Regions from separate parts of the Homo sapiens genome. Here regions 1, 2 and 3 are each linked to region 4. Evidence: promoter capture Hi-C in 16 types of primary human blood cells and fetal thymus (Javierre and others, 2016). All regions are on one chromosome and are shown on one strand. The core of a region is centred on a gene start or on the middle of the fragment in contact, and the rest is flanking DNA. Distances in the headings are between cores, read along the strand shown. Region 1 overlaps TBC1D31 (TBC1 domain family member 31). Region 2 overlaps TMEM65 (transmembrane protein 65). Region 3 overlaps ZHX1-C8orf76 (ZHX1-C8orf76 readthrough). Region 4 holds the start of FAM91A1 (family with sequence similarity 91 member A1).

The links. The method cuts DNA at HindIII sites, captures the fragments that hold promoters and counts their contacts. A CHiCAGO score of 5 or more calls a contact.
Region 1: a contact is called between a fragment that was not itself captured here and the fragment with the promoter of FAM91A1 in region 4, in 1 of 17 cell types (total CD8 T cells). The highest score is 7.1, in total CD8 T cells.
Region 2: a fragment that was not itself captured here is called in contact with the fragment with the promoter of FAM91A1 in region 4 in 2 of 17 cell types (fetal thymus and total B cells); the score reaches 7.9 in fetal thymus.
Region 3: a contact is called between a fragment that was not itself captured here and the fragment with the promoter of FAM91A1 in region 4, in 1 of 17 cell types (fetal thymus). The highest score is 5.0, in fetal thymus.

What each region holds. Positions count from the first base shown.
Region 1 is chr8:123,150,448-123,153,357 of GRCh38, forward strand. TBC1D31 (TBC1 domain family member 31) reads left to right here. Exons shown (of 22, transcript NM_145647.4): 22 at 1,359-1,706. The coding sequence ends at 1,492. Among named protein-coding and RNA genes, the nearest start is that of TRM-CAT1-1, 5.4 kb to the right of the region's middle. The HindIII fragment of the contact is 617 bases long and covers 1,099-1,715 here.
Region 2 is chr8:124,367,742-124,370,461 of GRCh38, forward strand. The region is part of intron 1 of TMEM65 (transmembrane protein 65); the gene reads right to left. Among named protein-coding and RNA genes, the nearest start is that of TMEM65, 3.6 kb to the right of the region's middle. The HindIII fragment of the contact is 332 bases long and covers 1,229-1,560 here.
Region 3 is chr8:123,246,221-123,249,152 of GRCh38, forward strand. All of the region lies in intron 2 of ZHX1-C8orf76 (ZHX1-C8orf76 readthrough), which reads right to left. It overlaps ZHX1 (zinc fingers and homeoboxes 1), which reads right to left. Exons shown (of 4, transcript NM_007222.5): 4 at 2,236-2,932. Among named protein-coding and RNA genes, the nearest start is that of C8orf76, 6.3 kb to the left of the region's middle. The HindIII fragment of the contact is 2,496 bases long and covers 107-2,602 here.
Region 4 is chr8:123,767,133-123,769,962 of GRCh38, forward strand. It overlaps FAM91A1 (family with sequence similarity 91 member A1), which reads left to right and starts at 1,307. Exons shown (of 24, transcript NM_144963.4): 1 at 1,307-1,642. The coding sequence starts at 1,571. RefSeq lists a silencer at 1,493-1,642. The HindIII fragment of the contact is 7,175 bases long and covers 1-2,185 here.

The sequences.
Region 1 (2,910 bases), core at 157-2,656, 620 kb before region 4:
ACTATTTTGACATCCTTGTGAAAAAAAATCTCAGCGTTGTTTTTCAAAGCTATTGCATAGTTGAATTTTCTTGACTCTGTTCATTTGGGCTGGGCTCCCTCCAACAACCATTGAAAACATGTGTCTGCCCTGGGCACTCCGATGGAATTCTGGGCCCCAGCAGCAGTAGAATGGCCAAAGGCAAATGGCTTCATGCTGATGAGCTGACTTTTGATCCCTGGACGTGGTTCATTGGAGGGTTTGGGGTTTTTTAGAAGGGACAGGGTAGAAACATCTTACAGAAATGTAATCACAGCATTAGGCCATCCATAAAGAAGCTAACAATCTTCCCAGTAAAGTATATTATTTATTTTTAAAAGGGAGGAGGAGAAAAGACACTCTGTTAAACTTACTTTCAACTATTTTTTTTCAATAAAATTGCCATATAGATGAAGCAGTATTTAACAAGATCTTTTGACTTCTTTTGGAAGAACAAACTTTTATACAATGTCCCAAAAAGACGAGCTTTATAAGAAATATGCCTAATACCAAGTCATGAGATTCCAGTATTGTGTAAAATATTTTTGCTAACTCACATTTTTATATGCATCTATAAATTCTGTGCCAGAATATGAATTAAACCAAAAATCATTCAAGAGTCAGATGAAGTATGAGAGATTCTCAGCTACTCTCTATTCTGACATATCAAATGGTTATTTGGCAGCAAAATACAAAAGCATGAAAGTTGTATTTCTTTGGGAGGAAAAACAGTTTTTCAGAAATTGAAGCTGACTGACTATTTGAATATGTAACTAAATTTCAGAGAAGTATATTTTTAAGGGCTTTTAAAAAAAATTTCAGTGTTCACTAGCCCCTCTAAATCAGTAACGCTCTTACACTTGGACATGTTGTAGTATTTTAATCTTGATTCTGGACCTTCCTGATATTAGCCAATATTAAAAAGCATTTGATTTACTTATTTTTATTTATTTATTGGAAAGGTAATCATGGTGTATATTTCACAGTTTTATGACTTGGAATGCCTTTTCTCATTACTATTAAGCATCATTGTGAGGAAGCTTACAGTTGCACAAACTCAAATTCTCTCTTAAATTAACAAGCTTTGTTTCTAACTTAAGATTGTTTGTATCCCAAGTATTTCAAAGCAGAGAAGTTCTCTGTTAGCATTCATTCAGTCCAACAAATAATTATTTGGCTTGTAAATGGAACCACCTAGGGCCAGGTTATATGTAAAATTTAGGTTTTAGAATTGCATTTCATTATTTGTTTTTACAACACATTTATCTTTAAAATAAATGCTGTATCACCGCTAACATCAGAAAACTCAGCTTTTCTAAATTTTAAATTTCGTTTTCAAGTTTCTTTAAATAGAAGAGCAGTAGAATGGGACACCACGGGACAGAATCTTATTAAGAAAGTGAGAAATCTTCGCCAGAGACTCACTGCCCGGGCTCGTCACAGATGTCAAACCCCTCATCTTTTGGCTGCATAGAATGCATGTCACCTTGAGACGGTCGAGAGAGAGACCTATTTTGCAATCAGTGACATTGATTTTTAGATTATTTATTTAAAATTCCTATAAAGATCAGCCCTTTGTACAGAAAAATGTGTCTATAAAAATTATGTGTTATTTAATTCTGATACTTTTTGGCTTGTAAATGGCTTCTTGAACTTTTTACAATAAAAATGTTTTAGAAACTGTTAAAGCTGTGTTAAGCTTTCAGGTTGCAGGGACCAGCATAAACCTCAGTAACTTTAGTTGATAAAGGTTTATCTTAAAGATGAATAGAGAAATAAAGAACAGGAAACCATCTCAACAGCTCTATAGCCTGGACTGAGGGAGAACTCAGCAGCAGGTGGAGAGCGCCAGCAGCGTGGAGTGGCCTATATCACCATCTTCCTGCCCACCCCCGCCTCTGCCAGCGGGACCCCCTCTTTGTCAGGGACCCCACCGGACTTGTAACATCTCATCTCTGCCCAGCTCCTTCTGCCCTCTGCCTGCTTCTTCTGGCAGCACCGACTGCTCTTCCTCCCTCCCTCCACTTCCTAGCTCCAGAGTGGGGCTGCTTGTGACTTCCTGAACCTTACTCTCTAAAAGGAGGGTAGAAATACTTGATATGACGATTCAGTAAGATCAGGCAGGCCAGACGTGGTGGCTCACACCTGTAATCCCAGCACTTTGGGAGGCTGCGGTGGGTGGATCACTTGAGGTCAGGAGTTCGAGACCAGCCTGGCCAACATGGTGAAACCCTTTCTCTACTAAAAATAGAAAAATTAGCCGAGTGTGGTGGCACATGCCTGTAATCCCAGCTACTTGGAAGGCAGGGGGAGGGGAATCACTTGAACCCAGGAGGCGGAGGTTGCAGTGAGCCGAGATCACGCCACCGCACTCCAGCCTGGGCAACAGAGTGAGACTCCATCTCAAAACAAAAACAAAGATCAGGCCTAAAAAGTTCCTGGCCCAGTGCTTGACACATAGTAAGTATATAATATGTAGTACTAATTATTTTTTCTGGGGCCACGAAGCATAATCTTATGGTTTATCAAATATTTTCAGCAAAGTGCTCTCTTGCCCAATAAGCAAAGTTCTAAAATGATCTCCTGGCATTATACACGGCATTGGTTTCCCAAGAGTATTTTTCTCAGCCTAGTTTTCCATACGTTTTTAGGTGACTGCAAACATATGCCTGCATGGGCCAAGCTGGTGTGTGTTTTTTGACAACAGGAATCCCAGGATATAGAATATGTAGAGTGTGATGGGAACTTTGGTAGACTAGAATTGCCTGCTCACCGGAAAGCATTGAAATTCTAAAATTCTGTGGTTCTGCCACCCAGAAACAGCTGTCTATTGCAGTTTTTTACCTCTATTTCAGGTCCTCTTTGACTAGGATTTATACCTAGTCAGGTCTC
Region 2 (2,720 bases), core at 145-2,644, 600 kb after region 4:
AAAAAATGGGGGACTACAAGATTAAAGTTTAGAATTATTTGGTTAATGTATACAGACGTAGATAAATGGTAAAAAATGTCAAAAGCACACAATTACCACTCACATAGAGTAATCAAAAAATGCAAGCTAATTGAGACCTAACATTGATAGAAAAACTGCTCTGTTCACCTCAATACATCTTTTATTTGCTATATGTAAAAACAATCTCATTTTTTAAATATCTTAAGTATACATATTATAACAAAAATATTCCCTAAGAGGCTCCCTTTTTCAAAACATATCTCTCATTGTACCTCTCCAATAGCCAGTTCTTGTCTCTCTGTGTAAACTCTCTGATGAGCATTAATTACACCACCTTAAATAATGTGGAAGCCAACCTCAAAGATGTACCCCCGATGATTCCCACTCCCTTGTATTCACACCTTGTGTAGTACTCTCCCACAATGTGTCAGGACAAAAGAGATGGACTGTCACTTCGAAGACTGCGTTTTAAAAGTCTGTGGCTTATAGTATACATATTATAACAAAAATATTCCCTAAGAGGCTCCTTTTTTCAAAACATATCTCTCATTTTACCTCTCCAATAGCCAGTTCTTGTCTCTCTGTGTAACTCTCTGATGAGCATTAATTACACCACCTTAAATAAGTGTGGAAGCCAGCCTCAAAGATGTACCCCCGATGATTCCCACTCCCTTGTATTCACACCTTCTGTAGTACTCTCCCACAATGTGTCAGGACAAAAGAGATGGACTGTCACTACTAAGACTGTGTTATAAAAGTCTGTGGCTTCCAGCTTAGGTGCCCACAGGTGCTGTCTTGCAAACACACTCGCTCTCTCTTGCTCTCTCGCTCTCTCATCACTTGCTCTAGAGGAAACCCACTGCCATGTCATGAGAATACTCAGGCAGCCCTGTGGAGGACCACATGGGAGGGAATTGAGACATCCAGCCAACAGCCATGTGAGTGAGACTTCTTGGAAATGGATCCTCCAGCCCCAGTTAAGACTTCAGATGATGCCACCCCAGCTGAGAGCTTGATTTCAACTTCTTAAGATCCTGGGCCAGAAATACTCAACTAAGATGCTATAGCATTCCTGAGCCTCAGAAATTATGAGTTAATACATGCTTGTTTTAAGCCACTGTGTTTTAGGATAATTTGTTATACCGCAATGGATAACTAATACAATGAGCACTGTCTATTTTTCAATACCAAATTGCTATATTTTAAAAGCTTTAAAAAATAATTATAAATGGAAATATTAATTACAAAAATTGGGAAGAAAATTTGTTTTAAAAATTTTGGCTAACATTGAAAGGCCACTGTAATAATGTCAGCTTGCCAGTACTACTTGTAAAAACATGAATAATGCTCTATCAGCAGAATATGGTCTGTTTCTGGAAGAAGAGAGATCAGGCTGAGCAGGTAAATTGAAGGCGCAAACTCAACTTTTTTTTAAATTGGGAAAGAAATTGGTTTGTAATTTTAAAAATCACAATATTCTATTTAACTATGATAAGATATCCCACAAGGTCTGCCTTATCTATTACGAACTGATTCCAAAGCTTTATCTCATCACAGATTATATCACATGCCTACTGATAAACATATAAGAAAGATAAGGGCAAATGTGCCAAATTTCAACAGCAGATTCCACTGCCATATCAAAGCATGGATGATATTTTTTCAGTAACATTTCCATACCAAATCCAAAACACTTCATTAGTTTATACAAGCACCCTTTCCAAAGACACACAAGATTGCCTATGGCAAGAAATAGCCCTTTAAATAGAATTAATTTTGTTAGAAAGTACACTTAGTACACACACACAATACATCGGTTGAGTACTTCAAAACATTATTCAAAAAGCAACAATAAAAGAAAACATGGGAGTTTTTCATTTATCTGGCTGGAAAAAAATTGTTGATTTCAGCAATGGAATGAGCTGTACGCATTCCCAACATAATAAAATCCCTTTTACCTTAATGATTAATGAATAAGGTAATTTCCTAAGTGATGATTCTAGTTATCTCCATAACTATATGTATTGATACTGAAAACAGTAAGTGAACACCAAGACTACATACACTAACAAAGCAGCAGCATCTGTGTCATTTGATTCATAGGACAATCATTTTGTCATCGACATCAGCAAAAATAGCTGATTTAAACTTTGATGTTCTTTAGCATATAAAGAGGAGAGATAAGCATCTGACTAACCATTGTTTCAAATATCCTTGACTGTTTCTCCTGAGCAAAGAAGACAATTTAAATTACTAATTTCTCTCTCATATTAGTAACATAACTAAGTTTAATTGATGCTAATGATCTCCATTGACTAAAGTGCTTAGGTCCTTTTCAGAATATTTAAAACCACGTTAAATTTAAAAATATTATCTTTATTAGGAAATGTAGCATTGCTACTGCAATACTGCTGGCATGTAAAAAATAATAATGTATGAGAAAAAAATTATTCAGTCACCTTGCAGGACATGTTTTTCAAGAACTGCCACAAAACTATATTCATAGGGCCCTCCAATCTTGTAACTTGTTGACAATGCAGAATTTCCAAGAAATTACTTGGAAAAGGTAAAATGTGTGTTCAAATAGTCTTGTCAGTGCAGAAAGATTCAAAAGTTAATGTTCTAGTACATGACTGACTATATTATTTTTCCAAGGAGCATATTTTCAGAATTGACTATTTTTAAACTGCATACTGAGT
Region 3 (2,932 bases), core at 105-2,604, 520 kb before region 4:
CATCACCATGTTTTGTATTTTTCTGTTTAAAGACACCTTATTTAATACTGTTGATTGATTAACACTGAACTCATGACTAACAGCACTGTAACTCATGCCTGAATGAAGCTTATCTAACGCATATTTTCTCCATAGGGCACATGACAGCCTTCTAATATTTAGAAACACTGACAACACTTCAGCACTACACTTGGGACCATTTTAAACTGCAGAAAGCAGAAAAATATGGAAAACACAGCACTAAATAGACTACAAAAGGATGCTTTTTCATTCCTATGGACACACACACACACACACACACACACACACACACACACACACTTCTCTACAGTATGAGACCTGAAACAAGGCAAAGCATCTCTTTGGTTGACCTTTGCTGGGAACATCTTTTTGTTGCCATTCTGTACATGTGCAGGAATGACCAAGGAAGTACTATGAATACTGATTTGGGGGTTACAAATACATTTTAATGTGTAGGCAAATTTGCATATACAGAATCCATAATGAGGATCAACTTATTTGCAAATCATAATACAGACAGTCCCCAACTTATGATGGACTTAAGATGGATTTACTAACACATAATCCCATGGTAACCTAACCCCATAGTAAACTGAGAAACACATGGATTTATAATTTATGATTGTGACCAGGTGCAGTGGCTCATGCCTGTAATCCTGGCACTTTGGGAGGCTGAGGTGGGTGGATCACCTGAGGTCAGGAGTTTGAGACCAATCTGGCCAACATGGTGAAACCCCGTCTCTACTAAAAATATAAAAATTAGATGGGCATGGTGGCGGGCACCTGTAATCCCAGCTACTTGGGAGGCTGAGGCATGAGAATCGCTTGAACCAAGGAGGCAGAGGTTGCAGTGAACTAAGATGGTGCCACTGCACTCCAGCCTGGGCAACAGAGACTCTGTCTCAAAAAATAGTAATAGTTTATGATAGTTCAAGTTTATGGTGAGTTCATCAGGGTATTAAATGGATTTTCAACTTACAAAAATTTTAACTTACAATGGGTTTATCAGGACAAACCCCATTCTAAGTCAAGAAGCAACTGTATCTGATAAAGCTGTAACATCCAGAATATATAAAGAACTAAAACTCAGCAACAAAAAGGCAACCCAATTAAAAACTGGGCAAAGGATTGAACAAACTTTCAATATATTCAAAGGAAGATATACAAATAATTATGTGAAAAGATGTAGTTTTGATTTGCATTTTCCTAATGACATTATCACTCATCATTAGGGAAACACAAATCAAAACCACAATGAGACACCACTTCATACTTACTAGGATGGTTATAATTTTTATTATTTTATTTTTAGAGATGGGGTCTCACTATATTGCTCTCACTGGCCTCAAATACCTAGGCTCAAGTGATCCTCCCACCTCAGCCTCCCTGGTAGCTGGGACTACAGACACAGACCATCGCACTGGGCTTATAATCACTTTTTAAAACTGAAAATGAAAGGTGTTGGCAAAAATGTGGAGAAACTGGAATGCTTGTATATTGCTAGTGGAACGTAAAATGGTACAGATGCTTCAGAGAACATTTTAGCACTGTGGAAGAGTTTGGTGGTTCCTCAACAAATTAAACACAGAATACCACATGATTCAGGAATACTACTCCTTGATATACTCAAAAGAACTGAAAATGGGTACTCAGATCCTTGTATACCAATGTTCACCGCAGCATTATTCACAATTGCCAAAAGGCGGGAAAAAAACAAGTTTCCATCAACAGATACATGGATAAACAAAATGTGTGTGGGAGGAAGTGCACGTGTACAGACAAACACACACACACACACACAATAAAACATAAATCAGCCATGAAAAGAAACAAAGTCTTGATATACGCTAAAACATGGATGAACTTGAAAACATTATAAGTTAAAATAAGCCAGACACAAAAGGGCAAATATTTTAGGATTCTACTTCTTTGAAATATCAAGAATACACAAATTCATAGAGACAAAAAGTAGATTAGAGGTTACCAGGGGCTGGGAGGAATGGGGAGTTATTGCTTAATGGTTCCGAGTTTCTGTCTGGGGTGATGAAAAACTTTTGGAAAAGTGGTGAAGGTGGTGCAGCACTGTGAATATAATTAATGCCATTGAATTTACACTTAAAAACTGGTATAATGGCAAATAGTATGTGATATATATTTTACCACAATGTTTTAAAAATTGACTTTGTTAATAAAATGAAAAAAAAAAGGTCACTGTAAACTACTAATCACTACTTTTATTTTGTATTCAAGGTCACAATCAACCAGAAGAGGGTTCTTTTGCTCTGTCAAATAAATATATTTAAAAGCTAGCAAACGTCAGAGAAGAGTTTTATCAGGCCTATAAAAGAGATGAGGGAAATTAATAGTTATATACAGCTACACAGAGTTAACATATTGCAAGGGAAACAACTATATTCAAAGGCTTCATTTCTAATACTTGACATTTCAAATTTTGAGAACATTAAAATTATTGTCAAACAAAACTCAGACCACATTAGCAATGTTTATAAAAGGGAGCAATTTAATCATTATATTACAGAGTGCTTTAAGAAGTTTTTAAACGTGTAAAAGAAAAAAAAAAAGCTTAGTGCATTACGGTCTTTACATTGCTTCTTTTTTAAAAAAGTTAACAGTAGTATGAAAAAAGCCACCCACAAAGCCAGCTGTCTGAGTGAGGAAATCAGCTACATTGCAGCATTTTGGAATTACTAATAAAGCTATAGTTAAAAAATAAAAAGTTTATAAAAATGAAAGCAGCATGCATATTCAAGGCTTTTTCATAACATTTTCAATGGCTGAAAAACATTTAACCAAGAGCTTAATATTTATTATCCATTAAATTAGAGAAAATAAACTGGCTAAGCCTACATCTGGTCATTCAGAAAAACATGTTAAAATCCAAAGCTAATTA
Region 4 (2,830 bases), core at 57-2,556:
ATGAAGCCCTGCCAAGCCTCAGTCTCCTCCTCTATCAAACTGGGATAGTAAGTGGTTACTGTTGTAGGAATATCAGGGTTGTGAGGAATAATCTATTGTCAAGTCAAGGCCTTAATACATGGCGGGCAGGTAATCAATATTTGTTGAATAAATGTCTCACGGTTAGAGTTCAGTTAACCTTAGCTATGCTGATGAGGATCTGTAAACATAAGGTTCAAAGCACTTATCTTTGGGTTATTATAGTTGGATAATAGGAGACCAAAACATCTAAGCAAGGGCAGTGTGTACTTGTCACCTTTATTTCATCAGACATAATGGGGTTTCTGCTAAGCATCAGACTTGCCAGCTGTTGAGGTGTGAGCTAGGTATCTTATAAAAAGTTCTAAGTATACATCTCCCAGTATATAATAAAACATTATTTAAAACCATTGTTAAAAACTGAAAAACAGTTGCAATAACACTGAACTTGTCTCTGGTTGCTGCCAGGAATAATGGTCACGGGTTTGCTAAGGCAGCGTAACAACTTCTGAAAGAAATTATTCCCAAAGACCTTATCACTCAATCTGAAATTAAGACATGCTGGATTTTTGCTTTTAAGTGACTCTGGAGGCATTTGTGTGGAGCAGAATAAAGCAGAAACCGACAGGCTGCATGACAAAGTTGGCAAGGGTATCTCTCTGTCAGCCCTGTAGGCTGCCTCGACCTGTCAGCACCACTGTTTAAAATTTCAGCTCCCTGAATCCCTGCATTGTAAGAATTTGGATCTTCTTGGGAAGTGGAGCCCAATGACGTGCAGCACACCGCGGAAGGGAAGAGGGCTTACCAGACCTTTGCTCTCCCACTGCCCATGCTTCTCGCTCAACCCGGTGCGAGACCTGACTTAGAGATTATTTCTTTCTCCAGGGCCCTGGACCCGTCCCCGCAACCCCCCGCCCCGTCTCACTGGCCCGGGTTCCGGGCTGGCCTGTGGAGAACCCCCGCGAGCGCACCGCACTCCAATGTAAAGCCAGCCACTGCCGGCCCGCTTCCCAGGTCGCTTTTCTCTGAAAACCGACCCCAGTGCCTCCGGCTTTACAATTTGAGTAAACTGGGTCATCAGCAACGGCAACGCAGACCCAAGCGACTATCGCCGTTCATTCAGAGACTGAAACGGGGAGACGAAGCGCGCGGGCGGGGAACGCTCACCCGGGCACCTCCCGGTACCTCGTCGTCGCCCCGCCCCGCAGCCTGTAGAGGGCGTGGCTAGAGGCCAGTCCGTGCCCCGCCCCTCCGGCCGCGCGCCAGCGGGCGGAAGTGACGTGTGCCCAGAGCCATTTCCGGCGGCCCGAAACTAGGAAGAAACTTGGAGCTGTTCAGGCGATCCAGCCTCCAATCGCTGCTGCTCTTGTACTCGGTTGGCCCGGGCGGCGCTGAACTGTCGGGAGCCTAGGCCATGGGGCAGCCTGGGCCTTCTGCAGTGTGAGGCGCGGGGCCTCCCGCGTCGCTCCGCTGACAGGCTGCGGGCGGGCAGGCGGGAGGCGTAGTGTGGGTCGCGGTGGCGGCCCCGGCCGCCGGCCCTGGCCGCGGCATCATGAACATAGACGTGGAGTTCCACATCCGGCACAACTACCCCTGGAACAAGTTGCCGGCCAACGTGAGACAGGTACGGCCGGAACCTGGGACCGGGCCCCTGACGGATTCGGCCCGCCCAGCGGTCACCTGCTTGCCTCGCTCGCGGGGCCCGAGCGGGCTGCTGCCGGCTGACTCCCTTCCTTTACTCCTCCGTGGTCTTGGGGAGACGGACCTTCAGCCCAGGGCGAGGAGGGGACGGCTGTGGGGCCACAGGGCCAGGACGGGGCGATCGCTAAATGGGATGGCATGGTGTCCACAGGACTCGACTGGCGCCTTTGCCCGCAGGATACATTCAGCCAGGCACCTGCGATAGAGATTTTAAACACGGTCCTTGACCTCCGGAATTTCAGGATGGTGGGAAAGGGATGGGAAACAAATGAATACGATACAGGATGATAGCAGCTCATACACACCTGCATTGTAGTATATGTGAGAGCAGAGGGAGGGAGAAATTATCCTGGGAGAGTTGGAAGGATTTTTAAGGCAGGCACTTAAATTGGGCCTTGGAGGACGAATAAGAGTTAAATAAGAGGGAATAAAGATTTTTCCAGGGGGAGGGAAAGTCATTTTACAAAGCTTGGATGAGTGAAAGAACATGTCTCATGAGTAGCAAGTGACTGTATCACCAGAGTTTGGACTGACATGTTTGGAGTTGAAGTTTTTTGAGTGCGCGGGGCTGGTAGCAGATGAGCCTGGAAAAGTGGTCAGGGCCAGATTTTGAAGGTGCTTGTGTGCTTTGTTTTGTTGGACTTTATCCTCCAGACAAGATGGGTTTATCAGAGATGTTTCAACAAGAGTGACATGAGGTTTTTGAAAGTTAATTCTCGATTTTTTTAGTCTGTTTTACTCAATTGTTTAATAGATATTTATTGACCACCTACTAGGTGCTGTGCGTTGCTCTAGGTGCAGGTAATTTGCAACAGTCAACAAGACAAAGACTGCCTTCATGGAGCTTACATTTTACTAAAGAAAGACGTAAACAAATAAATGAATAAATACGTAACATAGCAGATGGTTTTAAGTCTTACGAAAGTAGTGATATGGGCTACAGATAACGCACTGCTGCTCTGGTCATAGATTGACCTTCGCTTCCTCCCATTATACTTGGTCGAGAGTGAAATTCAGTTTTCTGTTGGCACTCGGCAGTGGCATTTTTGGGAAGTTTGGAATGGTGGCGGTGATGGTATATAAGGATTATTTATTTATTTTTATTTTTATT